Regions from separate parts of the Homo sapiens genome. Here all the other regions are linked to region 5. Evidence: promoter capture Hi-C in 16 types of primary human blood cells and fetal thymus (Javierre and others, 2016). All regions are on one chromosome and are shown on one strand. Each heading gives the region's core, a stretch centred on a gene start or on the middle of the fragment in contact. The rest is flanking DNA. Distances are from core to core; before and after follow the strand shown. Region 1 has its middle 62 kb from the start of LHFPL4. Region 2 has its middle 2.3 kb from the start of CIDEC. Region 3 overlaps EMC3 (ER membrane protein complex subunit 3). Region 4 overlaps LHFPL4 (LHFPL tetraspan subfamily member 4). Region 5 holds the start of BRPF1 (bromodomain and PHD finger containing 1). Region 6 holds the start of PRRT3 (proline rich transmembrane protein 3). Region 7 overlaps IL17RE (interleukin 17 receptor E).

Region 1 (3,923 bases), core at 639-3,138, 240 kb before region 5:
TCATTGCTATATGAATATCATGGAGTGCACTTACACAAATCTAGATGGTGTAGCCTACCTCACACCTAGGCTATACGGCATAGCCTATTGCTTCTAGGCTCAAACCTGTACAGCATGTTACTGTCCTGAATACTGTAGGCAATTGTAACACAATATAAGTATTTGTGTTTCTAAACATATCAAAACATGGAAGAGGTACAGTAAAAATACCGCATTATAATCTTATGGGACCACTATGCAGTCCATCATGGAGGGAAGCATGCAGTTCATGACATGTGTGGGTGTGTGTGTGTGTGTATTTGTTACTTATAAGGCAAAGAAAATTAGGCTGTATCAGACTTTTTGACAGCAACACTTAAATGGCAAAAGAGGCCAGGTGCAGTGGCTCACACCTGTAATCCCAGCACTTTGGGAGGATGAGGCGGGTGGATCACGAGGTCAGGAGTTGAAGACCAGCCTGGCCAAGATGGTGAAACCCCGTCTCTACTAAAAATACAAAAATAAGTGAATGTGGAGGCGGGCGCCTGTAATTCCAGCTACTCGGGAGGCTGAGGCAGGAGAATCGCTTGAACTTGTAGGGCGGAGTTTGCAGTGAGCCAAGATCACGCTACTGCACTCCAGCCTGGGCGACAGAGTGAGATTGCGTCTCAAAACAAAAAAAAAGGCAAAAGCTAATGGGATAATTTAAGATAAGGAAAGAGACAAGCCAAGAATTTTGTACGAACTGAACTTACTTTCCAGGGTAGTAGCCACAAATTGTCATCATTATCATGCAAAAACTTTGGGAATTTTATTTTCATGAATTCTTCCTTAGGGATCTATTGGAAACTGAGCTTCAAGGCCGGGCACGGTGGCTCACGCCTGTAATCCCAGCACTTTGGGAGGCCGAGGTGGGTGGATCACGAGGTCAGGAGTTCAAGACCAGCCTGGCCAAGATGGTGAAACCCTATCTCTACCAAACATACAAAAATTACTGAGCATGGAGGCAGGTGCCTGTAATTCCAGCTACTCGGGAGGCTGAGGCAGAGAATTTCTTGAACCTGGGAGACGGAGGTTGCCGTGAGGTGAGATCAGGCCACTACACTCCAGCCTGGGCGACAGAGCGAGACTCCATCTCAACAAAAAAAAAAAAAAAAAAAAAAAAACTGAGCTTCAAACAACAAAAAGCCTGATAGTATTACTTATATATACTTACATGCAGAATAGACTGAATGAGAGATATAAGGAGAGTATATACTACAAAATGGTTTACGTGACCTGCACAATATAGATAGAGTACAACTTTAGATAAATAAGCAGGAGAGAATGTGTTAAATAATCATACTGGCAGTAGTCTATCTGAGTGCTTTAACGTGTGATAAATAAATACAGCGTCCTTCAGAACCAATATTTCCCAGTGTTGGGGGAAAGGAGGTATAGCTGTTAAAGAAGTTTAGCCAAAACCCTAAGTATTAATATTAACTCATGAGGCATTTTACCATAGGTACAGAGAGATCCCATGTGTCTATCTATGTATCATCTATCGTGTATGTATCTTTGCCCTGTCAACTGGAAAGGCATAGAAACAGGGCTTCTTAGAGAAATGGCTGATTCCAGGTTTAGGAGAAGAAATGTCTAAGATTAGCCTGGATCATCTTGTCATACCAGTCATCAAGGATACTATCAAAGATAATTAGGGTTAGCTTTAAAGAGAATTGTGTTGCAACTTAAAGAGAATTCTCCTGACCAAAGATGGAACATTTGAGCATTAATTATGATAATACATTACAACATAATCAAATCGAACATATTTAAATCCATGAGTTCATAGTGGTACCAAAATAAAATTGTTCATTCTGAAGGATGTTAAGGAACTAACTTTGTATTTTTGAAAAATATATATATTTATATATTTTGAAAGGCCGCAGCATTTATCTTGCCTTTCCTGTTTGAGTTGTACCACTGAGTAACTACATAGCAAATGATGGTAAGTTTCTCTTTATAGAAGTATTTCCACAAGTAAATAAAGAGTGATAGAATTGGAACATCACTATTTTGCAGCTCCTAATGAATTAAAGATGTAAGCATTGAAGATTAACAGCAACTAGCAACACAAAAACAAAAACAACTCGATGTTAAGTGTCTCTTGACCAAAAAAAAAAAAGTTATTAAAATGTGAGAACATACACTCCTGAATCTGGTTAAGTATCTAGATCCAATTATCAATTTGCTGAAAATACAGAGGAGAACAGAAGAACTTACTGAACTATCCCACAAGAATGAAGCCAGCAAAATTCCAGTGGCAGAACACTACGTAACAAATGGTCTGGTTTCTTCAGCAGTAAATTGCAAAGGAGAAAAAGAGATTAAGTGGGGAAAGACATGAAGAAAAAAGAAGTGGCAACCCAGCACAGTGGCATGCACCTGTAGTGCCAGCTTCTTGGGAGGCTGAGGCCAGCCTGCCTGGGCAACATAGCAAGACCTCACCTCTAAAAAAAAAAAAATCTGGCCAGGCACGGTGGCTCACGTCTGTAATCCAACACTTTGGGAGGCTGATGGGGGTGGATCACTTGAGGTCAGGAGTTAGAGACCTGCCTGGCTAACGTGGTAAAAACCTGACTCTACTAAAAGAAAAAAAATAGCTGGGTGTGGTAGTGCATCCCTGTAATCCCAGCTACTTAGGAGGCTGAGGCGGGAGAATCACTGGAACCTGGGAGGTGGAGGTTGCAGTGAGCTGAGATCCTGCCACTGCACTCCATCCTAGGAGAAAGAGCAAGGCTCCATCTCAAAAAAAAAAAAACTAAAAAATTAAGGTTAAGCTGTATTGTTTAAAGATGCTCACTTGGGTGAAAAAATAAAAGTTGGGGAATGATTACAGTAAAAAGATAACGGTTATTCTTAGGAGGGAGGGAAGAGATGGAGTTTATAGGAAACATGAAGGGCTCTGGAGTAGCTGGCAGAGTCCCATCTCCTTGGTAGCAGTTAGAAGGGTATGTTATAATTAAGCTGTACATTTGTTTTATTCTCTGTGTGTTATGTTTAAGAAAACAAACAGAATCTGACCTGGCCACTATAAACTGGCGAACAGCTCTGCTACTAAGAGGCCGGAGGTAATTTGTTGAGCTCATGTCTGATTTATTTCTATATGCCTAGAGCCTAGCAGTACCTGACCAGGGTAAGTTATTCAATAAATGTTTTGTGGGGTGAGTACATGAGTTTGAAGAAGCCTCCAACCCATTCCCACACCCGTTTTGGCACCTCACGGAGCTTTCCAGTGCCGCTGGATGGATCTGTGTGGGCACCCCACACACTTAAGCTCTGCCTAAGTGGACTGGAAGGGAGTTTCAAACTAGGGCTCTGTTTGGAAGTGCGTCTGGTAAACTCCACCAACCTCACCCTCTGTCCCCCATCCCTTTCAACAAGAGCGTGTTCTGTGTCCTCTGGCCTCCTGACACTCTACTCCTACAAAGCAGTTCTCTTCTCCCTGTCCGTCTTTCTCTCCCAAGCTCTCTGCTGTGTATTCAGGACATCTTCGCTTTTCCTTGGCAGAAAACACTACTTCCCTCCATCTAATCTCTTGGCCCTTGCTGAATTGTGGCCTTTCCTTAGGACATTGCCTACCTTGTAGCCCATTGAAGTGGAGGCTGCTGGATCTTTTATACCTTGTTGCACAGAGGTTCTCCCTACGTTTGTCCAGACACATACATCTTGTCCCTCAGATTAAAAACTCCTCCTCTACCAATGCTCCCACCATCAGTGATTTTATCCTTTTTTTTTTTTTTTTTTTTTTTTTGAGATGGAGTCTCGCTCTGACCCCCAGCCTGGAGTACAATGGCGCAATGTCACTGCAACTTCTGCCTCCTGGGTTCCAGCAATTCTCCTGCCTCAGCCTCCTGAGTAGCTGGGATTACAGGCGTATGCCACCATGCCCAGCTGATTTTTAT
Region 2 (3,808 bases), core at 263-2,762, 150 kb after region 5:
GAGGCTGAGGCGGGAGGATTGCTTGAGGACAGGGGTTGGAGGACAGCCTGGGCAATAGAGTGAGACCCTGTCTCTGAAAAAAAAAAAAAAAAAGAAAAGAAAAGAAAAAAGAAAAAAGTAGCCTGGGTGCCGTGGCTCACGCCTGTAATCCCAGCACTTTGGGAGGCCGAGGCAGGTGGATCACTTGAGGTCAGGAGTTTGAGACCAGCATGGCCAACATGGTGAAGCCCCGTCTCTACTAAAAATAGAAAAATGAGCCAGGCGTGGTGGTGTGTGCCTGTAATCCCAGCTATCTGGGAGGCTGAGGCAGGAGAATCGCTTGAGCCTGGGAGGCAGAGGTTGCGGTGAGCTTAGATCACACCACTGCACTCCATTCTGGGTGACAGAGTGAGACCCTGTCTCAAAAAAAAAAAAAAAAAAAAAAAAGTCCGGGCACGGTGGCTCACACCTCTAATCCCAGAACTTTGGGAGGCCGAGGTGGGCAGATCACAAGGTCAAGAGTTCGAGACCAGCTTGGTCAATATGGCGAAAACCCCATCTCTACTAAATATACAAAAATTAGCCGTGCGTGGTGGTGGGTGCCTGAAATCCCAGCTACTCAGGAGGCTGAGGCAGGAGAATCATTTGAACCCGGGAGGCAGAGGTTGCAGTGAGCCGAGATCACGCCACTGCACTCCAGCCTGGGTGACAGAGTGAGACTCTGTCTCAAAAAAATAAAAATAAATAAAAATAAAGGCTTTGCAAACATAAACACTCAATGGATCGAAGTGATTATTAGTATTACTGATAATTTTTTATTTTTATTTTATTATTTTTAATTTTTTTGTCTTTTTCTCAATTTGATAATGTACATATTAAATCATAGCAGAGAGTAAGACAAGCTGAAATGTGGAGTGGTTAAGAGTGTAAGATCTCTGACCCAGCAGTTCCACTTCTGTGTGTGTGCGTGTGGTGTATGTGTGTCATACAGAGCACACCTGTTGTCCCAGCTGCTCAGAAGGAGGCTGATGCAGGAGGATCACTTGAGCCCAGGAATTAAAATTTAGCCTGAGTAACATAGGGAGACCCTGTCTTTACAAAAGAAAAGAAACAAAACCAAAACCAAACAAAATTACATATATATGTGTATATATATACACACACACATATATATATACACATACATATCCAAAAGAAATGAAAAATATGTCTACACAAAAACTTGTATGTGAATATCCATAGGATTATTCGTAATAGCCAAAAGGTAGAAACACATGAATGTTCAATTTATAAATCGATTTTTTAAATGTGCCTATCCATACATGGCATATTATTTATCAAAAAGGATCCATACTACCACATGGAGGAACCTTGCAAACAGTACAGAAAGTAGACAAAGCCAGTCACAGGAATCATATACATATTGTATGATTCCACTTATATGAAATGTCTAGAATAGGCAAATCTATATAAAGACAAAGTAGGGCCGGGCGCGGTGGCTCACGCCTGTAATCTCAGCACTTTGGGAGGCTGAGGTGGGCGGATCACGAGGTCAGAAGATCGAGACCATCCTGGCTAACACGGTGAAACCCGGTCTCTACTAAAAATACAAAAAATTAGCCGGGCGTGGTGGCGGGCGCCTGTAGTCCCAGCTACTCGGGAGGCTGAGGCAGGAGAATGGCGTGAACCCGGGAGGCGGAGCTTGCAGTGAGCCGAGATCGCACCACTACACTCCAGCCTTGGGCGACAGAGCGAGACTCCGCCTCCAAAAAAAAAAAAAAAAAAAAAAAGACAAAATGGGTTAGTGGTTGCTTCGGGCTGGGAGTAGGGGATGGGAGGGGAATGGGGAGTGGCTGCTAATTAGTACAGGGTTTCTTTCAGGGTTTTCTTTTCTTTTTTTTTTTTTTCTTTTCTTTTTGAAACGGAGTCTCGCTCTGTCGCCCAGGCTGGAGTGCAGTGGCACCATCTCCGCTCACTGCAAGCTCCGCCCCCCAGGTTCCCGCCATTCTCCTGCCTCAGCCTCTAGAGCAGCTGGGACTACAGGCGCCCGCCACCACGCCCGGCTAATTTTTTGTATTTTTAGTAGAGACGGGGTTTCACCGTGTTAGCCAGGATGGTCTCGATCTCCTGACCTCATGACCCACCCGGCTGGGCATCCCAAAGTTCTAGGATTACAGGCAGGAGCCACCGCACCCAGCCTTTTCTTTTTCTTTTCTTTCTTTTTTTTTTTTTTGAGACAGAGCATTGCTCTGTCACTCAGGCTGGAGTGCAGTGGCACGATCTCGCCTCACTGCAAGCTCCGCCTCCCGGGTTCACGCCATTTTCCTGCCTCAGCCTCCCCAGTAGCTGGGACTACAGGTGCCTGCCACCACGCCTGGCTAATTTTTTTGTATTTTTAGTAGAGACGGGGTTTCACCGTGTTAGCCAGGATGGTCTTGATCTCCTGACCTCGTGATCTGCCTGCCTCAGCCTCCCAAAGTGCTGGGATTACAGGCGTGAGCCACCGCGCCCGGCCTTCTTCTTTTTTTTTTTTTTTTTTTTTTTTTTTTTTTTTTTGAGACAGAGTCTCGCTATGTCACCACCCAGGCTGGAGTGCAATGGCGCGATCTCAGCTTACAGCAACCTCTACCTCCCACAGGCGTGTGCCACCACACCTAGCTAATTTTTGTATTTTTAGTGACCTCTGCCTCCCGGGTTCAAGTGATTCTCCTGCCTCAGCCTCCCAAGTAGCTGGGATTACAGGCGCCTGCCACCACACCCGGCTATTTTTTGTATTTTTTAGTAGAGACGGGGGTTTCACCACGTTGGCCAGGCTGGTCTCGAACTCCTGACCTCAAGTGATCTGCCCGCCTCTGCCTCCCAAAGTGCTGGGATTACAGGCATGAACTACCACGCCCGGCCAGGTTTCCTTTTTTTTTTTTTTTTTTTTTACCTATTAATTACAAATTATTTCAGTGATGTTTGCACAACCCTGTAAATATACTAAAAATCATTGACTTGTACACTTGAGTGGGTGATGTGAATTCTATCTCAATAAAGCTGTGTTTTTTAAAAAAACATTTAACCTCATCTTTCTTTTAACACAGGGTTTTTCACACTTTGGTACATCAGAATCAGCTGGCGGGTTTGTTAAAATTCAGATTGCTAGGCCCCACCCCAGAATTTCTCACTTAGTAAGTCTGGGGTGGTGCCTAGGAATTTGCGTTACTAAAGGTTCCCAGATGATTCAGAAGCCATGGCTGCTCAGGGAGCCCACTTTGAGAACCAGTGGTCTAGCGCTAGCTGTGTGAGCTAAATTTTCTAAGCTTCAGTTTGATCCAACAACTGGGGATAAAAATAGCTCTACTGCATCTGGTTTCCATGCAGATTAAAAGAGATAATCGTGAAATGTACTTGCTACAGAGTCTAGTGCATCCTTAGAGCTCAATAAATGGAAATTATTATTATTTAGATCTAAATCCTTCCCTGGAGGGGCTCTCAGGCAACCATTCATTCATTCATTCAGGAAATATTTATTAAGCACTTACTATATGCCAGTCCTTCTGGGGCTAAGAATACAACAGGAAACAAGACAGCCTTGTCCCACACTTCAAGGAGCTGACATTCCTGAGGAAGGTGGGAACTCAGACCATGAATAAATATGCAAATAAACAAAATAATTTCAGATAATGATGTTCTGGGAAGAAAACAAAACGAGGTGATATAATAACAGCTGGAGAGTTAGATTGGCCTATGCGTTCAAGAAACGCCTCCAAGGAGGTGAGCTTTGAGGTAAATCCTGACTAAATCCTGGGGGATGATCAAGACAAAGGAAACATCATTGCAAAGG
Region 3 (3,998 bases), core at 1,093-3,592, 240 kb after region 5:
TTTTTAGTAGAGATGGGGTTTCACAGTGTTAGCCAGGATGGTCTCAATCTGACCTGGTGATCCGCCCGCCTCGGCCTCCCAAAGTGCAGGATTACAGGTGTGAGCCACCGCACCCAGCCAGAAATCCTCATCTTTAAGGGACACTGGTTTTAGATTTTGGTTTGTGAGGTTTTTGTTTTCGTTTTTTGTTTGTTTGTTTGTTTGTTTTCAGACAGAGTCTCGCTCTGTCGCCCAGGCTGGAGTGCAGTGGCGCAATCTCAGCTCACTGCAAGCTCCGCCTCCTGGGTTCATGCAATTCTCCTGCCTCAGCCTCCCGAGAAGCTGGGACTACAGGCGCCCGCCACCACGCCTGGCTAAGTTTTTGTATTTTTAGTACAGACGGGGTTTCACAGTGTTAGCCAGAATGGTCTCGATCTCCTGATCTCATCATCTGCCCACCTCGGCCTCCCAAAGTGCTGGGATTACAGTCGTGAGCCACTGCGCCCGGCCTGTTTTCGTTTTCTTGAGACAGGGTCTTACTCTGTTGCCCAGGCTGGTCTCAAACTCATGGGCTCAAGTGATCCTCCCGCCTTGGCTTCCCAAAGTGTGGTTTGTGTTTTTATTAAACAAAAGAAAGTTCTTACCAGGATGCATCTAATGTGAGTAGCTCGATTCCTTGCTGTAACATAGGCTTAAAACGGAGGGTCAGTGGAAATGGGACCTTGGCTGCAGAGAAGAAAAAGTTCACAATCACTCTGAGCTGTTTTATTTTTAGAATAAGTGTGACTCTTTCTCAGAGGAGGTGGGAACTCTGTGCCACATAGCTTTTGGAAAACGACTTCCACAAGGAAATCTGTGGCAATTTCTGAAGAAAAGACAGTCAAAATGCCACTCTGCTCTAGTTTCCCTGAATAATATCTGCCTCTAGCTTACTGAGGAAGCAGGGACTCAAACTGAGCTGTGACCTGAAATTTGGAAAAAACTTGCAGCAAACTGTCAAACTCTAAGTGGAATATATAAGCATAGAATTATGTTAATAAGAAACCAAATTGATTAAAAGCGAATCAACTTACAAACAAACAGAAAACTCACCCTAACATCTAGCAAATGAAGTCAAAATAGAAATACGCTTCCCTTTATCCTGCTCAACGAGAATACCGTATTAGTTTTGGAAGTAAGCTAGCAAGTCACTTGCTTGAATCTAATCTGGCTAAAAAGCATCCACGTCATGAACTTAGGATCATTTTTGGGCAAAAGCCGTAAAAGTCATCACATATTAAATTTTTTGTTCAAGGACTATTATCAGTTTACAAAAGAAAACACAGGACCTGTGATATTAGTGTCTCACTAGCACTTGAATTTCTCTGGGTAACATGAAGTCGGCTGGGTCTGTAACTTACTTGTGACAAAGCCTGAGAATGTCATGTTGATCCATCCACCAATAAGAATCATAGGGAGGACATTTGTTACATTCCCTTTCATCATGTCTGTCAACATAGTAGGATCTAAGACAAAAGCACAAACAAGAAACCACTAAGTTTTACCTCTGTTGCCAGGGACTTTCTCCTGATTTTCTGTAAACTGTTTTTTTTTGAGACGGAGTCCCGCTCTGTCGCCCAGGCTGGAGTGCAGTGGTGCGATCTCAGCTCACTGCAAGCTCCGCCTCCCAGGTTCACACCATTCTCCTGCCTCAGCCTCCCGAGTAGATGGGACTACAGGTGCCTGCCACCACGCCTGGCTAATTTTTTGTATTTTTAGTAGAGACGGGGTTTCACCGTGTCAGCCAGGATGGTCTTGATCTCCTGAACTCGTGATCCGCCTGCTTCGGCCTCCCAAAGTGCTGGGATTACAGGCGGGAGCCACCGCACCCAGCGTTTTTTTTTTTTTTTTTTTTTGAGATGGAGTCTCACTCTATCGCCCAGGCTGGAGTGCAGTGGCATGATCTCAGCTCACTGCAACCTCCGCCTCCCAGGTTCAAGTGATTCTCTTGCCTCAGCCTCCTAAGTAGCTGGGATTACAGGCACACACTACAATGCCCAGCTAATTTTTGTATTTTCAGTAGAGACGGGGTTTCACCATGTCGGCCAGGCTGGTCTTGAACTCGTGACTGACCTCAAGTGATCTGCCTGCCTCGGTCTCCCAAAGTGCTGGGATTACAGGCGTCAGCCACCGTACCCAGTCTCAATATTTTTAATGTCTGCATAGGATTCCATGGTGTGGTCACACCAATCACTTTTGAGTAGACCTATCGATTGTTTCCATTGTTTTTGCCAATAAACGATAAATGATGCTGCCGACAATTATCTTGCACATACATCTGCATGTTTATGTGTTTCCGTAAGAGAATTTCTTAGAATTTCTAGGTCCAAGGATTTGTACATTTAAAATTGATAGATATTGTCAGACTGTCAGCAAGGCCCCACCTCTTGCCACTCCCGCCAATGGTGAGGGAGCCTAACTTCCTCGACCTTGACAATAGTGGATCCTGACAATCTTTTCAATCTTTTGACAGCTTACTGGGCTAAAAAAAAAAAAAAGAGATATCTTGGCCAGGCACGGTGGCTCACACCTGTAATCCCAGCACTTTGGGAGGCCAAGGCGGGCGGATCACGAGGTCAGGAGATGGAGACCATCCTGGCTAACACAATGAAACCCCGTCTCTATTAAAAATACAAAAAATTAGCCGGGCATGGTGGCAGGTGCCTGTAATCTCAGCTACTCTGGAGGCTGAGGCAGGAGAATCGCGTGAACCCGGGAGGCGGAGCCTGCAGTGAGCCGAGATCGCACCACTGCACTCCAGCCTGGGTGAGAGAGCGAGACTCCTTTCTGAAGAAAAAAAAAAAAAAAAAAAAAGATATCTTGTTTTAATTGATATTCCATGGATTATTAGTGAGGTCAAGTAACTTTTCATATATTTAATGGTCTTTTGTTTCTTGTAAATTTTCTTAAAAATTTGTTAAAAAATTAACTCCATACAACCTTAGTCACTCTCAAAAAAAATTAATTATAATACCTTCCGTATGGGTTTAAAATAGCTGGTTATCTCACCTAAAGAAGTGAATAGTACTAAAATGAGAGGAGTCAACACAGAACAACAAATTACTTTGTTTTACTTTTAGTTATTTTTATTTTTATTTTTCGGAGATGGAGTCTTGCTCTGTCGCCCAGGCTGGAGTGCAGTGACGTGACCTCAGCTCACTGCAACCTCCACCTCCCAGGTTCAAGCAATTTCCTGCCTCAGCCTCCGGGGTAGCTGGGACTACAGGCACCCACCACCACGCTAGGCTAATTTTTGTATTTTTAGTAGAGACGGGGTTTCATCATGTAAACCAGGCTGGTTTGAACTCCTGACCTCAGGCAATCAATCCACCTGACTCAGCCTCCCAAAATGCAAGGATTATAGGCGTGAGCCACCACACCTGGCCTGTTTTACTTTTAACATGCTATATTTTTCACATGACTGGTATCAGTGGAAGTAGAAAATGTTAGAGCCAAAACTGTAGGGTAGACCAAACAATCACGTCTAACAACAAAGTCAACAAAATGGCACATCTTGGAAGTACTGCACTCTTCCTCATTTAGGCAGAAGCTGGGCAGCCATCTATTGGAAGGGGATCCAGGCACTGGGTGACAGCCAGGCTGGAATGCTTTACCAACTGTGCTCCCTAGAATCCTGGGTCCTGAGAACAGCAATAAGGAGAGACCCAGGGACAATAGCTCTGGCCTCCCCACTCCATCAGCTGAGAACTATTTTTTTTAATCCACTTTATACATTGGGGTTCTCAGAAAATCTAACTGAAAAAGAGAATTCCACTTCCATAGATCCCTGTATCAGATGATTTCTAAGGTCTAAGATTACTATCTTTTGCAATTTAACATTTAAATAAAATGACACCCTCCCTGCCTACCCCACCCCACTCAAATACCCATGTTAAAAATCTTCCTTAAAGATGAGTGAAGGGAACAAACATACCAGTCATAGGAGAAGGTGGCACTACCTTCCGTTTAGTTTTTTTGAA
Region 4 (4,082 bases), core at 1,244-3,743, 210 kb before region 5:
GTAATCTACCCACCTCAGCCTCCCAAAGTGAGAAAAGTTTTTATTTTACCTTAACTTATTCCTTCTTCAATATTCTTCCCTTACTTGTATACATCTGAGCTTCTAACCTATACTGTTTCCCATTTTTTTCTCTAAAGAACTTCTTTGAACACTTCTTGCAAAGCAGGTCTACTGGTAACAAATTCTCTCAACTTTTGTTTGTCTGAGAAAGTCTTTATTTCTCCTTCACTTTTGAAAGATAATTTCAGAGAGTACACAATTCTAGGCTAGTATTTCCCCCCCCCCCAACACTTTAAATATTTCACTCCATTCTCTTCTTGCTTGCACAGTTTTTGAGTCAGATGTAATTCTTATCTTTGCTTTTCTATAGGTAAGATGTTTGTTTTTTGTTGTTTTTTGTTGGTTTGTTTCTTGTTTTCCTTCTGGCTTGTTTCAGAATTTTTTCATTATGCTTGATTTTTTCTAGTTTGAGTATATGTCTAGGTGTAGGGTTTTTTGTTTGTTTGTTTGTTTGCTTTTTTTTTTTGGCATATCCTGCATGGTGTTCTCTGAGCTTCTTGGATGTATGGTTTGGTGTCTAACAATAATTTGGGGACATTTTCAGTCATTATTATTCCAAAAGTTCTTCTGTTCCTTTCTTTTTTCTCTTTCTGTTATTCTAAATATGTAAATGTTACAACTTTTGTAGCCATCATATAGTTCTTGGATATTCAAGTTTGTTTGTTAGTTTGTTTTAGTCTTTTTCCCTTTACTTTTTGTTTTTAGAGGTTTCTACTGACATATCTTTGAATTCAGAGATTCTTTCCTCAGCCATGGCCAGTCTACTAAAAGCCCGTCAAAGGCATTCTTCCTTTCTGTTACAGTGTTTTTTATCTCTAGCATTTATTTTTGGTCCTCTCTTAGTATTTCCATCTCTCTGCTTACGTTGCCCATCTGTTCTTGCATGCTAATTTATTTGTCAGAGCCATTGCAATATTAATTATAGTTATATGTGTAAATTCCTGGTCTGATAATTCCAACATGCCTGCCATAATTGAGCCGGGTTCACATATTTGCTCTGTCTCTTCAAACTGTGTTTTTGCCTTTTAGTATCCCTTGTAATTTTTTTCTTGATAGCTGGAAATAATGTACTGGGTAAAAGAAACTGCTGTAAGTAGGCTTTTAGTGATGTGGTGGTAAGATGTGGGAAGAGGGGAAGCATTCTATAGTCCTACAAAGAGGTCTCCGTCTTTTAGTGAGCCTTTGCCCTGGACTGTTAATTTCACAAATGCTTCTAAGTTGTTGCTGTTTTTTTCTTGCCCTCCTTAGGTGGGACAGCATGGCTAGAGGCAGATGGAGTTTCCTTCCCCCAAGATCAGTTAGCCTCTCTCTGATAATCCCAGCAGGTTAGGCTCTAGTCACCTAGTTTCTCCCAAGGACAGGCCTGGCATACATCAGAATTGTTCCTTTTTCCCTGCTCTTGCCAGAACCATGAGGGGATTTTTCTTCAATATTCACCGTAAGAACTTGGTAGAGCTTCAGGAAGTAAAACTTACAAAAGTGTGGGAGCCCCCCTAATGACTGGGTCCCCTGGGAGTTTTTAATGTCTCACACTTGTCCACACAGCCTCCAGCAATTTGTCAATTACAATTCAGTTTTCCCTTGCCTGGGCATTGGTTCCCATAAAGGTTTCTGCTCATGGGTTCCTTCTGCTCCTGTAAGTTGTGATTCTCTGCACTCACCTGTCTGTCGCTCCAATTTTGGGGGCAGCAGTTTGCCCTGTGACCTTACGTCTCTCATGGATCTAGCAAGAGTGTTTATTTTTCAGTTTGTTTGGCTTTTTACTTGCTGTTAGGATGGAGTAGCAGCTTCCAAGCTTCTTACATCCCTGACCAGAAACCAGAAGTCCACTCATCTGTGTTTTTTATAAAAAGGATATGCATACTATGAAATGCATTGCAACAATGAGAAAGAATGGGTAGCACTTTAAGGACTGAAAGAGCAAGATTTCTTTGACACAACGTCATCTGAAAAAAAGCAATCATAATTTTAAAAAAAATCCAACGTGCTTATACGTTTGAAAAAATGGGAAAAAATGGGAAACATGCCAGACACTGTTTTAACTGTTTTATGTGTATTAATTCATTGTTACCTCATTTTTATATGTTATGAAACAGGCACAGAAAGGTTAAATGATGAGTCTGACCTAGCCTTCCTGGGGCCTGAGTCCATGCTCTTAACTACCTCTCTTTTTCTGACATATTGAGCAGGTAGAAAGACCATACGTAGGCATGATCCCTTTAGTTTTAAAAAAAGTAGGGGATGGTATATACATACAATGAAATATATTGAACCTTAAAAAGGAAAGAAATTCTGACACATGATACAACATGGAGGAATCCTGAAGACACTTTGCTAGGTATATAAATAAGCCAGTCATGAAAGGACAAACACTGTATGATTCCATTTATATGAGCTACCTAGAGTAATCAAATTCACAGAGACAGAAGGTGAAATGGTAGCTGCCAGGGCTCGGGGGAGGGAGGAATGCGGAGTTAGTGTTTAATGGGCACAAAGTTTCAGTTTTGCAAGATTAAAAGAGTTCTGGAGATGGATGGTGGTAATGACTGAGCAATAATGTGAATGTACTTGATGCTAGAGAATTGTGCACCAAAAGACAGTAAAAATGATAAATTTTATGTCATGTGTATTTTACCACAATAAGAAAATGCGGGAAAAAAGAATGTCCCCGTACAAATCTGACAATAGTTTGAATAACTGTCTTTATTTTGCTCACAATTGTAGTCGGCTGTGGTCTAACATCCCTCATATCATCTCCCTCCTTCAAGCATCTCTTAAAATGATGGTGAATGTAATGAGTTTAATTGCGTTCCCTCAAAAAGATATGTTCAAGTCCTAATCCCTGGTACCTGTGAATGTGATCTCATTTGGAAACAGGGTACCTGCAGATATAATTAAGACACAAGACAAAATAAGGTCATTAGGGTGGGCTCTAAGTCCAATCACTGGTGTCCTTATAGGAAGAGAAGAGAAACACACACACACGTGAAGACCAGAGATTGGAGTGATGCTGCTGTAAGTCAAGAACACAAAGGAAGGCTGACAGCCAAAAGAAGGGAGATGAGATCAGGGAAGCTTCCCTCCCAGAGTCTGCAGGGGGCATGAGGCCCTGCCCACACTTTGATATTGGACTTCTTAGCCTCCAGAACAAGAATAAATTTTTGTTGTTTTAAGAAAAAAAGAAAAAAAAAGGTTAAAATGGTAAATTTCATGTACATGTATTTCACTGAAAGGAAGGAAGGAAGAGAAGGAGGGAGGGAAGGAGACAGAAGGAAGGAAAGGAAAGGGAAGGGAGAAAGAAGTAAGCAGGGGTACACAGAAGATGACATGATATAGTTTCCTTATGGATATATATGTAAATGTGCAGAAAAAGATCAGGGAAGATAGAAATGAAGTTTATAAGAGTGGTGGCCTCTGGGTGGGGCTTGGGTGGGGACTTTAGTCTTTTTGTAATATTTCAGCTTTTTACAGAGTGGGTATATTCATATATTACTTGTGAAATTTAAAAACATAATTTTGACCAGGCATCGTGGCTCATGCCTGTAATCCCAACACTTTGGGAGGCCAAGGCAGGTGGACCACTTGAGCTCAGGAGTTTGAGACTAGCCTGGGCAACATGGCAAAACTCTGACACTACTAAAAAAAATAATAATAATACAAAAAGTTAGTGGGCATCGTGGTGCATGCCTGTAGTCTCACTTATTTGGGAGTGCTGAGGTGGGACGATTGCTTGAGCCCAGGAGTCAAAATCAGCCTGGGCAACATGGTGAAACCCCATCTCTACAAAAAATTAGTCAGGCATGGTACAAGCGCCTGTAGTCTCAGCTATTTGGAAGGCTGAGGTGGGAGGATTGCTTGAGGTCAGAAGGCAGAGGTTGCAGTGAGCCAAGATCATGCCACTGCACTGCAGCCTGGGCAACAGAGCCAGATGTTGTCTGAAAAACAAAAACAAAACCCATATACAGTAGACTAGTGTGGCGGAATAATTTTTTTAAAAACCCAGAAAACCAATAATTGTACAA
Region 5 (4,141 bases), core at 271-2,770:
TCTGCTTTGATCCATCTATTCTGAATTATTTTAATAAGGATAATAACAGCTAATATTTTCTTTGAACATTCACTACATGTCAAACCGTGTGCTAGGTGATTTACAAGCATCATCTCATTTAATTCTCACAACAACTCTGAGAACAGGTACTATATATTATTCCCACTTTACCCATAAGGAAACTGAGGCTCTGAGAAGATGAGTCATTTAAGATAATTCATCAGTTTGACTTCAGATCCCAAGATCTTAATCAGCAAACCTCTTCCTGGCATGTCGATTTTATTGGGATGGTTTTTAGAAAACATACATTTTATTGGGTCAAATGCAAAGTTTGCATTAAGAAGATAGAAGCTTTCAGATGCTTTGGGCTTTGTCCCAGAACCCTGGAAGACCTTTCACGCTCCTCTTTGATGACAAAACTGGAGAAGTATTGTTTAAGGATGTCTCCCCCTGCCATGCAAGTTCTCTGAAACCCTCAAGAACTAACAACAGAGTTTTCGAGCTCTGTTTTACAAATAAGGAACTTAAAGAACTGAACTTGCCCACGTTCACATTGCTAGGAGGTGACCCACTCACATTAAATCAGCTGTTTTGGCACCATGTTCCAATCAGCAACCCGCAGCACATCCCTGCCAACCCACAGATTTCCCACCGCTTTACCAGACAAGCCCTTTCACACCCACCGGCCCCAAACCAGCCCCTTCTCTCAGACCCATACCTTTTCTCTAGCACCTCTCCTTTACTTTTCCCAAGTTTCTTCCCTTTCCTTCAGTCACGCCCCGTTATCCCTAATCGGTCCTGCCCTTTCCCCACAGCTCCGCCCCTGCCTTACCAAGCCCCGCCTGCTCCCTTCAGCGTCGCATCGCTTTTTCCAACTTTGTTCTTTATTTCTAGTCCAGCTCCACTTTCCAGGCTCATCCAAAGCTCCGCCCTTTCTCTCGCGAGTACTCTTCTTCTGTTTAGCCCCACTTTTTACCCCGCTATTCTAACAGGCCCCCGCTGTGCGGTAGCCCCGCCCCCTCCCACAAGCCCCGCCCCACAGACCGGTCTAGTCTCCAGCCCCGCCCCGGTCCTACCCATAACTACCGGTCCCTTAGGCTCCAGCCCGCATCCCTCTTGCTCCCGGCCCTGCCCCCAGCCCCGCCCCGTGACTCTGGCCCCGCCTCACCGCCTTCCTCCGAGACCAAGGCCAGGTCCCTCCCGCAGCCGCGGCGCCAGCAGGAGGCAGGGAGCGGATAGGGAGGAGGCAGAGGGGGAGGGGAGAAGGGCGGGCTCCTCACGCCCAGCCCCGCGCTCACCGTCCGTGGTTGCAGATTCGCCACAAACCGCCCGACGACCCCAGATCCCGAGTACGGTGACTTCAGTCTCCAGAAACTCCACTCTAAGATGGGAGAGCTAGAGAAGCCCTGTGGGGTGTCCAGGGTCCTTTCTGAATCCCGGAGCACGGTCTTTCGAGCCTCAGCGGGCGGGCGGGGATCCGTGGCGAAAGTGCAGCTCAGTAGCGCCGCGGCGCCACGTTTACCCTGCGCAGACGCCGTCGCCGCCGCTGCTGCCGCCGCCGCTGCCACAGCCTTTGCCGCCACGGTCTCCGCCGCCGCTGTCCTCGCGCTGCCTCTGGGAGCCTCCATTGTTCCAGCAGCGCCCGGTCCCGAGACCGGGCATCTTGGGGGCTCGCGAAACGGGCGGCGGCCGACGGAGTTGAGACCCCAGGGCGCCGGCGGGACCAGGAGCGGCAGGGGTCAGCTCAGGAATCCCGGGGAGCCGGGACCAAAGCGTGGGGCGGCAGGGGGCCGGGGTGGCGAGGTCTACGGTCTCCGGAGTTGGGGCTCCCCCTTCCCGGCCCGACTTTCCCCGCCGACCTCCCCAAGTGGGGTCGGAGCCCCGGCGGGCGCCCCCGGCGATGAGCCCGGACTCGAGGTGGCCGGTGAGTGCGGGCCTGGGACCAGGGCGGGAGTGGCCGGCAGGGAAGGGGTAGGCTACGTTCGTGGGACGCGCACTGAGCCGCGTGGCCCGGGAACCTCTCTGGCAACTCCAGTTGGGAGAACTGACAGTGCATTGCTTCCCAGCAGGCATCCTGGGGCAACAGTGTATCTTTCGGGGCTGCCCGGGCTAGTGGCAGGCGGGGAGCCTTGTTTCACTTGTTACACTTCCACAAAGGGGAAACGCCGCCGCATCCGGAGAGTGGGCTGCGGGCACTGCCGGGGCCCAGCCCTATCCCTCCGGCCCCCGCCCCTTACTTCCTCCAGCCCCCTGAGCTTCAGGGGCAGATGCAGCCGCCATTCTCCTTGGGCCCTCCCCACGGGCTTTCTGGTCTAAGTTCTCGTCTCCCTCGCCTGTGCCTCTGCTGCCGGGTTCCAAGGGGAGATTGCTGATTCGCTGTGCTACTTTGGGAACCATTCACCCGGGACCCAGCTTGGAAAGAGGAGAGCTTGTTTGTGCTTCGGTTGGTTTATGTTTAAAGACACAGCCGCAGGTAGGAAATAGAAGAGTTGCAGTTGGACGTGTAGCGTTACTGATGTGAAAATCAGGAGCCGTTGACAGTGGAGCTGGAGCAGCCCACTTGCCTGGTTAAGGCACAGGTGGAGAGGCCAAGAGGGGTTATTTTGTCAGGGAGCTCATGATAGCCCTGCCTGGCTGGGATGGTGCCAAGCCCCTAGCTGAATGGTTGAACTCAACTAGGCCGAGAGAAATTGGGGCAGTCTCTGACCAAGCTGGGCTTCCTGAGGCCTGGTGCCATCTGCTGTCTACACTCACCCAGGAATGTTGGGGAGCGGGGAGGGAGGGCCCCTGCGGACCAGCATGGAGCTGAGCATGCCTAGATTGTCGCGTTCGTGTTTGTACCCTTAGGGCCTGGCACTTGGTAGTCACTCAGTTGATGTGTGAGTGGGTGAACAGCTCAAATGTAATACAAGCTGCTGTCACTGACTAAATGACCTCAGTTTTCACTTTGTTTCACAGTACATCTCCTACCCAGTACCAGGGCCAGGCTCCCCATAAAGACCTCAAAAGTAAATGAATTCTTTCTGTGATCCAGTGATTTCTGCAGGAGTCCAACGCTAAAGCATTAGCCACCCACCCATTCAGCTTTCTACATGGCCTTCATCCCATCTGAGCTCTCAGTCTGGTGATCCCCTCATTCAGCTATTCGTTCAACAGGTCATTCATTCGTTCGCCAAAAACTGAATGTCCAGTGCATGCTAGGTACTGGGGATACAGAGGTGGATAGGCTCTGGTACCCTTGCTACACAGCTCCCAGTCCAGGGGGGAGACAACTTTCAGTATGTCAAGTGCTGTGGTAGAGGTGAGAATGGAATGCTGTGGAAACAGCTCCCCATGGGAGAGTCAGAGAAGTTGTGTCAGAAGTGACATTTGAGCTGGTTTTTTGAAGAATGAGTAGGAGCCCACCAATCAGAAAGTATGGAGGGCATTCCAAATAGGGATCATTTTGCAGGAATGAGAGGTTATAACATTCAGGGAATGGCAAGATCCCCTGTGTAGACAAAAACAGCTGTAACTTGTAAAAAGAAAGGAGGACTAGGGCCAGTCAGTGAAAGGAGCTCTTTGAATGGCATCATAGAGAATTTGGAATATTATCTTGAAGGAACTGGGAGCATCAGGAGGCTTTTAATGAAGAGAGTGTCATGATCATTACTACCTGGTAGAAAGATCATTCTCCTACATGATGTGAGATTGGGCTAAAGAAGTTGAGACATAGGGCAGGATAACCAGGCAAGAGGTGATGAGGGCCCAGATATGGGCTATGGTGGAGGAGATGGCATTTGGAGACACTGTAGAGGTAGGCTGGCCAGAATCTGGTGACTCCAAGTGAGGGGGAGGGCTAGAAAGACTGGGGTCTCTGGTGCAAATGGCCAGGAACTCATCCCCAGCCTTATGTTAACTGATCTGTGTATTCTAGATGTGACAGCATGGGGGTGGACTTTGATGTGAAGACTTTCTGCCACAACTTGCGGGCGACTAAGCCACCATACGAGTGCCCGGTGGAGACCTGCCGAAAGGTCTACAAGAGTTACAGTGGTATTGAGTACCACCTGTACCACTATGACCACGACAACCCACCACCCCCACAACAAACTCCACTCCGCAAGCACAAGAAAAAGGGGCGCCAGTCACGCCCAGCCAA
Region 6 (3,964 bases), core at 89-2,588, 220 kb after region 5:
TTAAAATTGCTGGACGTGGCACTTGCCCTGCTTTAAAACCTTCAGTGGCTCCCCATTTCCCTCAAGAAAGAACATAAGCTCCTCTCCTGGCCTTCCAAGACCCTGGCCACCACAAGCTGTTCATCTGTCCTCCAACACCCACTGGACTGTGTGGCTCCCATGCCTTTTGCTTCTGCTGTTCTGTCAGCAGGGAATGCTCTCTCCCTTCCCCTTCACTTACTGAAATCCTGTTCTTTTTGAGACGGAGTCTTGCTCTGTCGCTCAGGCTGGAGTGCAGTGGCGTGATCTCGGCTCACTGCAACCTCCACCTCCCAGGTTCAAGTGATTCTCCTGCCTCAGCCTCCCGAGTAGCTGGGGTTACAGACATGTGCCACCACACCTGGCTAATTTTTATATTTTTAATAGAGATGGGGTTTTGCCATGTTGGCAAGGCTAGTCTTGAACTCCTGACCTCAGGTAATCTGCCCATCTTGGCCTCCTAAAGTGCTGGGATTACAGGCATGAGCCACTGCACCCTGCCTGAAATGTTATTCCTAAAGGCCCACTTCAAAAATGAGAGACGTGGAGAGGGAGAGGAATATGCACCGGCCTTTGGCGAGGGGCCTGAGTTTGAATCCCAGTGTCTTCATTTCCTGGGGGAGTCATTTCACCTCTCTGCATCATAGTTTTCCCATCAGTAAAATGGGGATAATAAGCATGCCTAACTCAAGGCATGAGACAAATAACCAAACAGGTATGGGCGAGGTTCATACCTGATGCTTGACAAGCGTTACACATTCCTCTTCCCGCCTTCCTTCCCTCATCTTCCTGGGCACTTGTCACTCTGGTCTGATTCTATAATAATCTCCTGCCTCTTATTTCAAACCTGCAGCCTCCAGTATATACCTGGCCCCACGTGGATATCCCCTAAAAGTTCCTGTTCTCGAGAGCCTGTCAGTGGGCCAGGGAGGCAGGAAGGGGCCCCACCACCAGGAGAGGTTTCATGGAGGGTGCGAGAGCTGAAGCCTGGGTGTGTTTGGCGGCAGAGGCCCTGCTCTTTTCCTCTCTGGGGAGCAGCTGTCCCCAAAGCTTCCTGGCTGTTAACCCATGGTGGCTCACAGACACCTTAAGAAGCCACTGAAAACCCCTGGTGCTCTCCCGGGGAAAAGACCCAGGCTCACCGAAAGTTGTGAACAATTTCAAGGGGTTCAAAGACCTTTGAGTCCCATCCTCCAAACTCGAGTTTAGACTCTGTCTTAAAGCCTTGTTAGTTCATTTCTCAAACATTCACGGAGCCCCATGGGCTGCTCCTGGTCTAGGCTAGGTGCTGGGGGCCCAGAGACAGGGCTTTGCTCCAGGGTTGGGAGTAGGGGTGCGCTGAGACGCCCCTAACACAGGTACTGGCTAAAAACAGTGCTCCTGTGTTTAGTTCTTTCCCAGTGAGGCTCCTGCGCTGAGCTTAGCAACACGTCACTCCGCCCTCCCAATACAAGGTGTGGGAACAGCCATTTCACAGGGGGAAGAAACGGGGGTTCAGAGAGGGTGAGCAACTCCCCCAAGGTCACACAGCTGAGTGGACACAATCGGGGTTGTGAAACCCTCGGAGGCTCATCTTCCACAGGAGGTCCAAAAAGCTTTGCCGAGAAAACGGCTGAATGGGGCCTCCAAAGATAAACATGCCATCTGCCTACCACTGCCAACCCAAGAGATGTGGGCACCTGCGGACAAGGCGGGGGCTTGCCCAGCCCTGGGCTCCCACTCTGCTGGAGAGGCTGTGGGGGGTGGCGGATCTCTCTGCCGCAGGGACTGGGGAGAGGCCGGCCTGGGGGCAGGGCGAGGCCGTTGCGGGGCAGCCTCGGAGCTGGTCCATCTCGGGTTACCTCTCCTCCTCCTCCTCCTCCTCCTCCGTCTCCTCTCTCCCTGGCTCCGCGCCTTCCCGCAGTGTCCTGGATGGGGGTGGGCGCCGTGCAGGCCTGGTCGCCTGCGCCCGCGACGGGGGCAGCAGGCCACGCTCCCCGTCGGGGTCCCGCCATCGCCCCCTCCCTGGGCCAGCTCCTCACCTGCGCGCCGCAGCCCCCGTGTTCACCTTGCGCGCGTCCCTGCAGCCGATCGCCGCGCCGCATCCTCCGAGATGCTCAGACTCGGCTAACAGAGCCCGGCGCTGCCGATCGCGAGCCCGCCCACAGGAGCGCAGCCCTGCTTAACTCTTTCCCCTTAGGGGTGGACTCTTCTGTCAACCCTGACTTCCCCTCGCTCAGGGATTGTCAGGGCTCAGAGTGGAACCGAGGTCATCTCTGAGGGATGTGGAAATGTCTTCTGCAGCATCCCTGAAAACGGGGCAGCTAGCCTCTGCTTGCATACCTCATGGGACGGGGAGCTCACTTCCTTTCTATATCCCTACATCCTTTTAGGTAAATCCTACCTACAGCTTGGTATGTATCCTTCAGATTCTTCTCAATGTACAGTTACATGTACATCTTAAATAGAAATGACATCATACTGTATACTTTTTTTTTTTTTTTTTGAGACAGTCTTGCTCTGTCGCCCAGGCTGGAGTGCAGTGGCGTGATCTCGGCTCACTGCAACCTCCGCCTCCCAGGTTCAAGTGGTTCTCCTGCCTCAGCCTCCCTAGTAACCATGCCTGGCTAATTTTTATATTTTTAGTGGAGACAGGGTTTCACCATGTTGGCCAGGGTGGTCTCGAACTCCTGACCTCAGGTGATCAGCCCGCCTCGGACCCCCAAAGTGTTGGGATTACAGGCGTCAGCCACCGTGCCCAGCCACTGTACACATTTCTGTAATTTGTCTTTTTCACTTTCCAATATATTCTGGCACATTTTTCATGTAAATATCTATAGATCTATATCATTTCTTGTATCCACTGTTGAGAATTCCAGCATATGGTCAGCTAGTTATTGTTCTTTATCCTGTCCCCTGTAATTGGACATAGGTTGTTTCTAGCCTTTTGCTCGCAGGGATAATGGAGCAGGGGCCATTCCTTGCTTAACACATCACTGTGCACGTACACTAGTGCACCTACCAGATAATTGCCTAGCCGAGGCATGGTAGTAAAATCTATGGGTCTGCATATGGGGCTGGTAGACACTGTCAAAATGTTCTTGGTCTTTCTTTGAACACCTCTTGATATACTAAACATCCATTATTAGGCTCAATTCCTTAAGGGAAAGCCACACAGGAAATATATGTGGTTATCAAAAATGAGATAGGGCTGGGTGCAGTAGCTCACACCTGTAATCCCAGCACTTTGGGAGGCCTAGAGAGGAGGATCATTTTGAGCCCAGGAGTTCAAGACCAGCATGGGCAAGATGGTGAGACTTTTTTAAATTAAAAAACAAACAAAAAAACAAAAAAACTAGCTGGGCGTGGTGGTACATGCCTGTAGTCCTACCTACTCCAGAGGCTGAGGCCAGAGAATCATTTGAGCCCAAGAGGTCAAGATTGCAGTAAGCTATGGCCACTGGAGTGTCACTGGAGTGCATTGACCACTCTGTCCATTGACCACAAGCTGTGTCACTGGAGTGCAATGACCACTGCACTCCAGCCTGGGCAGTAGAGCGAGACTGACAAAAAAAAAAAAAAAAAAAAAAAAGAAGAAGAAGAAGAAGAAGAAAATTTGGCCTGTATAATGGCTCATGCCTATATTCCCAGCACTTTGGGAGGCCAAGGCTGGAGGACTGCTTGAACCCAGGAGTTCGAGACCAGCCTGGGCAACATGGCAAAACCCCATCTCTACCAAAAAAAAAAAAAAAAAATTAGCCAAGTGTGGTGGTGCGCACCTGGGTCCCAGATACTCAGGAGGGTTATGTGGGAGGATCACTTCAGTCCAGGAGCCAGAGGTTGCAGTGAGCCAAGGTCGCACCACCGCACTCCAGCCTGGGTGACAGAAAGAGACCCAGTATCAAATAAAAAATCAAATTTCACTTAAAAAAGAAAAAGAAAAAATTCTTCCTAGGGCTGAGCTGAC
Region 7 (2,816 bases), core at 1-2,500, 170 kb after region 5:
TGCCAGGTAGGGACACCTGCCTGGCACAGCCATAAAGCTCCCCACTCCCCTGCCTGCCCTGTGCTACCTCCGCAGTCCCTGTGCTCTGGTGGCAGCTTTGATGTGTCCTCTACCTAGTCTCAAAGGGGTAGCCAAGGTCCTTTGTGCTGAGGGCCTGGACAGGGTGGAGCTGGGAAGATAAGAGCCAGAAGGTATGGGCTATTAGCTATGGGGCTCAGAATTTGCTGATTTGAAGCAAAGACCCCAGGAATGTGCCTTATGGGAGTCTCTCCTAATAATAGCTCTTTCCTTTCTTTTCCCTACTGGGCCCTGTGCCTCAGGATGACAGTTTCACTGGTGAGTCGCATTTCCTGCCCCATTGCTCCTCCCCACGCCCACTATTTTTGCAGATGCCTAGCAAGCCCTCCATTCTAATTTTCAGTTCCCAACCCGGGAAGTAGCACAATATCAAGGAAAAATTTGGAATCATGACAAGCCTGGGTTCACATTGCAGTTCTGCCAGACTCCCGTGTGGCCTCAGACTGTGCACCTAACCCCTCCAACTGACCCTCAGTTTCTGAGGGGTAGTAGCATAGTAGAAATGATTGTACACTAAAGGCAGTGTTGCTTCTGATCTGTAGAGAGGATTAGATGAGAAACATGAGTAAATCTCCAGGTTCTCCATATATGTTGGCTCCTCCCCTTAACTGATCCCTCACTTCTATCAGTAATACAACAATAATCCTTCCTATTTTATGGTATGTTCTACTTCACAAGACATTTTCCCATACACTACAATTTTGATTTTTATAACAGACCCGCTTTATGAATGAGGAATCTGATCCTTAGACAGGTCCTGTAACCCCCAAAGTCATACTTCCAGGATGTGACAGAGCTTGGCCTCAAATCCAGCTTGTTGGAGGTAGGAGGGACCTTCTTAGACCCTATCATTTGCTTTCCCTTCCATCTTTCCCAGGAAGTTCTGCCTATATCCCTTGCCGCACCTGGTGGGCCCTCTTCTCCACAAAGCCTTGGTGTGTGCGAGTCTGGCACTGTTCCCGCTGTTTGTGCCAGCATCTGCTGTCAGGTGGCTCAGGTATGAGAAACAGCCCCTTGGGCCATTCTCAGTGAAGAGAACATTTTGAGGGACCACCTAGGCTGAGCAAGTGGGACTTACTAGAACAGATATTTGTCTTGTTTTAACCTCAACTGGGACTTGGATTATCCTAAAATAGCACGCTATGACTGATATTCACAAATACAATTGTACAATTTTATGAAGGTTTTTTTTCAGCTGAGATTCTTGGAATTAAAAGCTATGGATTTATTGTTATTACCATCTATTTGTAGAGCAGGATCTTCTTTCTTACTCTATATTTTAATTGCTCAGCTCAGTGCCTGGTACATACTAAATGCCCTTACATTGCTTAAGAATTGGCAGTTTCTAGGCCAGGCGCGGTGGCTCACGCCTGTAATCCCAACACTTTGGGAGGCTGAAGCAGCCTGATCACCTGAGGTCAGGAATTCGAGACCAGTCTGGACAACATTGTGAAACCCCTGTCTCCACTAAAAATACAAAAAATTAGCAGGGCCTGGTGGCAGGCACCTGTAATCCCAGCTGCTCAGGAGGCTGAGGCAGGAAAATCACTTGAACCCAGGAGGTGGAGGTTGCAGTGAGCCGACATCATGCCATTGCACTCCAGCCTGGGCGACAAGAGCAAAACTCCATCTCCAAAAAAAGAATTGGCAGTTTCTGGGCCAGGTATGATGGTTCACACCTGTAATCCCAGCACTCTGGGAGGCCAAGGTGGGTGGATCGCTTGAGTCCTGGAGTTTGAGACCAGCCTGGCCAACATGGCCAAACCCCATCTCTACAAAAAAATACAAAAATTAGCTGGATGTGGTAGTGCACACCTGAAGTCCCAGCTACTTGGGAAGCTGAGGTGGGAGGATCACCTGAATTCAGGAGGTGGAGGTTGCAGTGAGTTAAGATAGCGCCACTGCACTCCAGCCTGGATGACAGTGTGAGACCCTGTCTCAAAAAAAAAAAAAAAAAAAAAAAAAGAATAGGCAGTGTTTAATTTTTCTAATTGTTTGTTGTTAGAAATAATGCTACAGGGCTGGGCACAGTGGCTTATGCCGGTAATCCCAGTACTTTGGGAGGCTGAGGCGGGCAGATCACCTGAGGTCAGGAGTTTGAGACCAGCCTGGCCAACATGGTGAAACCCCGTCTCTACTAAAAATACAAAAATTAGCCAGGTGTGATGGTGCATGCCTGTAATCCCAGCTACTCAGGAGGCTGAGGTGAGAGGATTGCTTAAGCCCAAGAGTTCAAGACTGCAGTGAGCAGTGATTGTGCCACTGCACTCCAGCCTCCATGACAGAGCAAAATCCTGTCAAGAAAGGAAGGAAGGAAGGAAGGAACGAAGGAAGGAAGGAACAAAGGAAGGAATGAAGGAAAGAAAGAAAAGAGAGAGAGGCAGGGACTGGCGTGGTGGCTCACGCCTGTAATCCCAGCACTTTGGGAGGCTGAGGTGGGCAGATCTTGAGATCAGGAGATCGAGACCATCCTGGCTAACATGGTGAAACCCCGTCTCTACTAAAAGTACAAAAAATTAGCTGGGCGTGGTGGCAGGCGTCTGTAGTCCCAGCTACTCTGGGGGCTGAGGCAGGAGAATCGCTTGAAGCCAGGAGGCGGAGATTGCAGTGAGCCAAGATCGCGCCGCTGCACTCCAGCCTGCGTGACAGAGCAAGGCTCCGTCTCCAAAAAATAAAAATTAAAGAATGCTAAAATGAATATCTTTGTATATATAGCTTTTTCTCTGCTTAAGAAATTA

Evidence for each region. The method cuts DNA at HindIII sites, captures the fragments that hold promoters and counts their contacts. A CHiCAGO score of 5 or more calls a contact.
Region 1: a contact is called between a fragment that was not itself captured here and the fragment with the promoter of BRPF1 in region 5, in 1 of 17 cell types (megakaryocytes). The highest score is 7.0, in megakaryocytes.
Region 2: a contact is called between a fragment that was not itself captured here and the fragment with the promoter of BRPF1 in region 5, in 1 of 17 cell types (neutrophils). The highest score is 8.6, in neutrophils.
Region 3: a contact is called between a fragment that was not itself captured here and the fragment with the promoter of BRPF1 in region 5, in 5 of 17 cell types (neutrophils, monocytes, M0 macrophages and 2 more). The highest score is 13.9, in neutrophils.
Region 4: a fragment that was not itself captured here is called in contact with the fragment with the promoter of BRPF1 in region 5 in 1 of 17 cell types (megakaryocytes); the score reaches 5.0 in megakaryocytes.
Region 6: a contact is called between a fragment that was not itself captured here and the fragment with the promoter of BRPF1 in region 5, in 3 of 17 cell types (monocytes, naive CD4 T cells and M0 macrophages). The highest score is 7.2, in monocytes.
Region 7: a contact is called between a fragment that was not itself captured here and the fragment with the promoter of BRPF1 in region 5, in 4 of 17 cell types (neutrophils, monocytes, naive B cells and 1 more). The highest score is 8.0, in neutrophils.

Annotation. Positions count from the first base shown.
Region 1 is chr3:9,489,380-9,493,302 of GRCh38, forward strand. No RefSeq gene overlaps it. Among named protein-coding and RNA genes, the nearest start is that of LHFPL4, 62 kb to the right of the region's middle. The HindIII fragment of the contact is 8,839 bases long and covers 1-3,923 here.
Region 2 is chr3:9,880,669-9,884,476 of GRCh38, forward strand. No RefSeq gene overlaps it. Among named protein-coding and RNA genes, the nearest start is that of CIDEC, 2.3 kb to the left of the region's middle. The HindIII fragment of the contact is 3,540 bases long and covers 1-3,282 here.
Region 3 is chr3:9,973,005-9,977,002 of GRCh38, forward strand. EMC3 (ER membrane protein complex subunit 3) reads right to left here. Exons shown (of 8, transcript NM_001394674.1): 3 at 3,953-3,998; 4 at 1,380-1,484; 5 at 624-705. Among named protein-coding and RNA genes, the nearest start is that of EMC3, 12 kb to the right of the region's middle. RefSeq lists an enhancer at 3,425-3,998. The HindIII fragment of the contact is 7,414 bases long and covers 1-3,998 here.
Region 4 is chr3:9,523,709-9,527,790 of GRCh38, forward strand. All of the region lies in intron 2 of LHFPL4 (LHFPL tetraspan subfamily member 4), which reads right to left. Among named protein-coding and RNA genes, the nearest start is that of LHFPL4, 28 kb to the right of the region's middle. The HindIII fragment of the contact is 1,280 bases long and covers 1,854-3,133 here.
Region 5 is chr3:9,730,215-9,734,355 of GRCh38, forward strand. BRPF1 (bromodomain and PHD finger containing 1) reads left to right here and starts at 1,521. Exons shown (of 14, transcript NM_001003694.2): 1 at 1,521-1,924; 2 at 3,917-4,141. The coding sequence starts at 3,927. RefSeq lists enhancers at 957-1,516, 2,077-2,636 and silencers at 980-1,339, 1,810-1,859, 1,870-1,999. The HindIII fragment of the contact is 5,381 bases long and covers 350-4,141 here.
Region 6 is chr3:9,950,283-9,954,246 of GRCh38, forward strand. PRRT3 (proline rich transmembrane protein 3) reads right to left here and starts at 2,126. Exons shown (of 4, transcript NM_207351.5): 1 at 2,040-2,126. All of the region lies in intron 3 of PRRT3-AS1 (PRRT3 antisense RNA 1), which reads left to right. RefSeq lists a silencer at 1,625-2,164. The HindIII fragment of the contact is 545 bases long and covers 1,067-1,611 here.
Region 7 is chr3:9,903,077-9,905,892 of GRCh38, forward strand. It overlaps IL17RE (interleukin 17 receptor E), which reads left to right. Exons shown (of 16, transcript NM_153480.2): 2 at 321-336; 3 at 956-1,075. Among named protein-coding and RNA genes, the nearest start is that of IL17RE, 1.6 kb to the left of the region's middle. RefSeq lists an enhancer at 1-645. The HindIII fragment of the contact is 3,209 bases long and covers 1-2,816 here.